2 separate regions of the Homo sapiens genome follow, and region 1 is linked to region 2. The links are contacts of gene promoters, found by promoter capture Hi-C in human tissues and cell types (Jung and others, 2019). All regions are on one chromosome and are shown on one strand. The core of a region is centred on a gene start or on the middle of the fragment in contact, and the rest is flanking DNA. Distances in the headings are between cores, read along the strand shown. Region 1 overlaps TNRC6C (trinucleotide repeat containing adaptor 6C). Region 2 holds the start of TMEM235 (transmembrane protein 235).

Evidence for each region. The method cuts DNA at HindIII sites, captures the fragments that hold promoters and counts their contacts. A contact is called where the count stands out against the background at its distance.
Region 1: a fragment that was not itself captured here is called in contact with the fragment with the promoter of TMEM235 in region 2 in 1 of the 25 tissues and cell types used here (spleen).

Annotation. Positions count from the first base shown.
Region 1 is chr17:77,962,505-77,965,291 of GRCh38, forward strand. All of the region lies in intron 1 of TNRC6C (trinucleotide repeat containing adaptor 6C), which reads left to right. Among named protein-coding and RNA genes, the nearest start is that of TNRC6C, 5.2 kb to the left of the region's middle. The HindIII fragment of the contact is 3,556 bases long and covers 1-2,787 here.
Region 2 is chr17:78,230,324-78,233,023 of GRCh38, forward strand. It overlaps TMEM235 (transmembrane protein 235), which reads left to right and starts at 1,308. Exons shown (of 5, transcript NM_001395503.1): 1 at 1,308-1,890. The coding sequence starts at 1,701. The HindIII fragment of the contact is 13,022 bases long and covers 1-2,700 here.

The sequences.
Region 1 (2,787 bases), core at 122-2,621, 270 kb before region 2:
AGCTGGTGGAGAAGGCACAAGAAATGGAGAGGAGGAGACAGGAACAGATTTATAGACGTCCTTGGAGCTGGCAGAAGGATAGGTTGAGGGAGCAGGAGGCGGAGTCCTGAACAGACTGAGCGTGAAAGGGTCTATATAAGCTGGGAAGAACCAGGTAACTTTATGTTTGTTTTGTTTTTGTTATCTTCCGTTGAACTTGTTTTGGCTTCTTTCTCATAATTTTAAGACATGGGTTTTTACCTTTTCTCCAGCTCTATCTCAGAGGGTCTTCAAATATTTTAGGTGAGAAGTAAGGAAATATTTTGAAGTGTTGGTGACACAGTCTTTGGTCTCTCTTGCATGACAACTGGTCCCAGTGAAGGTGACTGGATTTTAGTTACTTTAGATAGTTAACATCTTAATATTTTGTTTGAAGATGTCATAGATTTGAGTAGGGACAGCAAAATATCAGGTGAGAAGTGGCTCCTATTTTGTAGGGGGTAGATTGTACAGGTTTTCTTGCTTTTACTCAGTCTATGGCTATCCAAATTTATACAAATGAGTTTTTAAATAATTGTGTGGTCACGAGGAGAGCATTCTTTATAAAATGATATACAATAAGCTTTCTTTAAATAGACTTTAATGCAGTGGAGTCCATTTATAAATTTTCAGCTTATACATAACTTTTTAGGAATATAATTACTTAAAAATGTAAAGGTTACTTGTCAGAAATAACTATATAACCTTGTGCAGAAAGTGTATATCTGAAATTGAAACTGAGAAATGTATAATCTTAGCCAGTGAACTTGTTTGAATAACCCGATTAAAATAATGGTACAGTTTCCTATTGTACAGATCGTGCATTTGAAATGTTAATTTATTTAATGAAAAGTAAATTATGTAATTTTAAAAAATCTCCACCTGGGATATATATAACAAGGTTTTACATGTTTAAAACATGCTGAAAATCCATATCGTTTGTTCCATTTTTGGAGTTTTACTAAAAATGAATTCTTTTCTTAGCTTTAGATGTTTTCAGAGAATGAAGAAGCTATTGCAGGAATGGAGAGCTGTTTGTTAAGAATGCATTCCTCCTCTGTAGCCTTCAAAAGACTATAGAGCTGTGTGCAGAGCTAGACAATCTGGGCATCCAGCCATAAAACATCACTGCTGTAGCACAGATAGTTGTTCGCACTCTCCTGAGCCCTCTGTGGCTGCAAACCACAACAGAAGTAATGGTCTTGGGAAAGGAACACTCAATGTTATTTTGAACTCTTAATATTCTCTGTGTCTCTCTGAGTTCCAGCTATGCATTGGAACTTTGGTTTTCTAAAATATAGTAGTGATTAAGGATGAGCAATAATATAGCTTCTTAAGTATATTCCTCTTGTAAGCCAGTGGATTTAAATGTTTGCTCTAGGAAATAAGGGGTGTCTAGGAAATAAGAGTTGTCTGTCCCACCATCTTCCTCTTTATTTGCCTCTTTGTTGCAATACTTCTTTTCTGTTGGAGAACCACTGCCCTAAGACCCATATGATCACTGGGCCACACACAGTGCACATGGCCCAAAGAGTCATCTGGAATCTTCCAGATATTTTGTGGGATGGATTGGTCTAATTTGGCCCAGTTTCCACTTTCTCATGAACCTTTTTGGCATAACAAATTTTTAATTTTTTTGCACAAAAATGAAGAAGAGTGTGACTGGCATCTATTTGTATAAATCCAAATGGTTTACTCTGAAGACCCTCTCTGTTTTTCTTCTTCAGACCATTTTAGAAATTAATACTCTATTGTATCTTTATAACTTCCTTCTCTGAAGGATTGAACTACAAACCTATAGTATCACAGTGTCAAGTTGAATTATTCTCAGCAGTTGGATAACTCTTGTCTGTGGTTGAGTCCTTTACTAATGTGCAGACTGTCTTTTGACGTGGCTAATACCAGATGCAAGTTGGTGCCCAGGTGGTTATTGGGAATATGTGCTTTGTTTGATTCATTTTATGTGTGCCTTCTAGCTTATTAAGAATAAGATCTCTCACAGCTAAAATCAAGTGCTTGGTTTGAGCCTGGCAAAGATATTGTTTACTTTTTTATTCCCAAAGATCATTTCTTTTTAATTACTCTTTTAGGAAGCAGGGAAAATCTCAGTGAAAATAGCAACTGGGAATTAAACTAAGATCTGAAACTGGGAAATGGCAACGCGGGCACAGGTGTCACCTTTCCAACTGTTGTTGAGATGATGTGGACAACGGTTATTCAGAAATTACAGTGGGGAGGAGGGAGATGCACAAGTATTTTTTCTCATACTCCATATGAAATATGAAGTGCAGAGTGAGGGGCCCAGAGTGTAGGGAGGGAATTTAATAGGCTTTGTTCTTCAGGGGGCTATGGCTGATGTCTTAAACAAGGTCTTTTTTGGTAGGGAGGCACAGTAAGGGAAGAAGGTGATGGATTTGTGGGAACAAGTACATTTGAGTCACTGAGGACAATTGGGAATTGTGAAGTGGGAGTGGACGAGGTTAGAAAGCATCCTTAGGTAACCAGATCTCCATTTAAAACTAATCTGAGCATTTACAATGTGATTATGTGCCAAGGACATGAGTTTATCTTATTTAATCCTCACAACACTCCTGTGAAGTGGTTGCTTTTAACATTCCCATTTTACAGATGAGCAAAGGGAGTAATTTCCACAAGATCCTATAGCTTATAGGAGATGAAGCCAGAATTTAAACTCAATACACTTCAAAGCCCTCACATATGGAAAAAGCTTGGATTATTTTAATAGCTGCTTAATGAGTCTCTTCCTCT
Region 2 (2,700 bases), core at 58-2,557:
CTTGAACCCTGGAGTTTGAGTCCAGCCTGGGCAACATAGGGAGACCTTGTCTCTAAAAAAATAAATAGAGTGAGAGAGAGAAGGGGAAGTCACCGGGAGGACACACATGGAGCACGCAGCCCAAATGGGGCTCCTCTGTTCTCCCTGCAGAGTCAGTTCGTACCTTTCACATGCACAAAGGTGTTGATCCAACCGAAGCAATATTGATTCTTGTTATATTGCTTTATTGTGGGGTCAGTGTCAGAGTACCACGAGTTTTCATCACGCACCGTTCTTTCCCCAGCTGCAGTGTGTTTAGGGGGGGAACGAGGCCCCACCCCCTATCCCTATCGCCTCTGCCTTTATAACGGCTGCTACTCTCTGAGCACCTGTTGAGTTCTTTCACCTTCCAGATCTAATGTGCTATCCCCACCCCTAGAGAACAGGGCTGCTGGATGCCACATGGCTCCCAGAGAGGGGCTGTGGTCAGGGAAGCCCCAGCTCCAAGGGGGCTGGAAAACCCCAGAGCTGCCCACGTGCGGCAACACAGTCTGGTGCTGCAGGTGTGAGGACGGCTACAAAATACCTGAGCCATTCTGTCACTCTGTCTGAACTCTGTTTGAAATATTGTTTCAATAACTGCTAGGCTGGTTTTTCCTTCCTGACTATATTCCTCAAACCAACAAGAGCCTAGCAGAGGAAAGCATGGCCAAAACGCCCCAAGAAGAGAGCCTTGGCTTCACCTCCAAGGGCCACCATCCGGGAGGATGTCCTCAGACCTCTGATCCCCTCTCTGCAGGCTCTGCCCAGCCCTGTGTGGCAACCCAGAGGAAGCCTCCCCTTCGTTTGAGATTTAACCCCAGACCTTAGGCGATGGCTGCCCAGCCTGTCCCTTCCGCCTGTGTGGCTGCCCACGCGGGCGTTGCTCATGGGGCTAGTCCTGGGTGGATGGGTGGGGGCCTCTCGCCGGCTCCTCTGCCTCCCACCCCCACTGGCACCCCACGCCTGTCCTAGAAGGTTCTTTCTGCCTGTTTTCTCCGTGAGTGACTGGACAGGCAGAGGCCGGCCTTGCTGGAGGGGGCATTTGTAATTATGAGTGAATCCAAAACAAGGTTTTTTCCTTCCGCAGCCCCCCGCCCGGCTGTGGGGCCCAGCCACTGCACTTCACCGGATGCCGTCTGGTTGGTCCTCAGGACTGATACAGACCAGGACCCCAGGGCCAGCCCGTGCCAGGCTCCTATGCTTCCAGGAGCACGGGTGGGTGGTCCTGCTGCCTGGCCGGCCATCCTCCTGGGGTCGGTCTCTGGCCGATCCTCCCTCCTCCTCTCAAGCCCTGCACAGCCCGGCCAGGCAGGTGCATCTTGTTTGGCTGCTGAGGAGCCGGGGGTTCAGGGAAATTAAGGAACGTGCCCAGGGACCCGGGGCCAGCCCGTGGGGACGCTGGGATTGGAGCCCAAGCCCCAGGTTCGCCGCGCGGCTCTCGACTTCCTCTCCTTTCCCCCAGGGGCGAGCTCAGCGACCGCAGAGAGGTGGGGTCGATCTCCCTGCGACCCCAGGGGGCCCGCGAGGCCAGTGCGCGGGCAGGAGCGGGGACGTGCTCAGAAGAGCCGGGCGCCGCCGCGCCCGCCCGCCCCCCGTCCCCCGGCTCCCGGCTCCGCGCGCCCCCCGCCGCCCCCGGGGCCCTGCTACCCCCGACCCGTCCCCTCCCGCCGGCCGCCCCCATGGCCCGGCTGGGCGCGCTGCTCCTGGCCGCCGCCCTGGGTGCACTGCTCAGCTTCGCGCTCCTGGCCGCCGCGGTCGCCAGCGACTACTGGTACATCCTGGAGGTGGCGGACGCCGGCAATGGCAGCGCCTGGCCCGGGCGCGCAGAGCTGCTCTCCTCGCACTCGGGGCTCTGGCGCATCTGCGAAGGTAACCGGCCACCGCGCCGGCCCTCCTCCCTCCGCGACCTCGTCCCTCCGACACCCCCTTAACCCCGCCCTGCTCGTGTTGCCCCGCCAGACCCCCTTCCAGGACCCCTCTCTTGCATCCCGCTCTGCCCCAGGGTGTCTCTCCGCTCCCTCCCCATCACCCTCCGTCTTCCCCCAAAACTGACAGCCCAAGGGCTACAGGAGGGAGGGAGCCCAGTTCGGGGCCCCTCACAGCCGGAGGAGGGGGCTGTGGGGCGACAGTGGGGGAGGGAAGCCTAGAGGTGTGTAGTTGGGGGGCCTCATCCAAGTCACCAGGGGTTGTTTCTTGATCACGCTCCCCGGGGTTTGGGCCTGGCAGCCCCTTGTCCCCGTCCCTGTCAGGCACTGTCAGAGCTGTTCACCCCACACCTCCTGATGCCGCGGGGGCAGGGGTTCCAAATGTGTACAGAGGCTTCAGAGTCCGGGGAGAGAGAAGGGGATCCCAGCAGGCTGGAGGGTCCACAGGGCCCCCTCCGTTCCCCCCAGCTCCCTCCTCCGGAGCTGGGGCCAGCCTGGGGAGCTTCCCCTTCACAGCGCGAGGGCTGGCAGGGCAGGGGTGTGTGTGTGAGTGAGCATGTGTGTGCATCTGAATATGTGTGCATGTGCTGAACATGAACATGTGTGAGCACCTGGCTGTGTATGTAAATATGAATATGTGAGTGTGAGTGTATGTAGTTGTGTGTGCATGTGAATATGAGTGTGTGAGCATGTCAGTGTGCATGTGTGTGCATGTGAGAGTGTGTGGGCATGTATATGAGTGAGTGCATGTGTG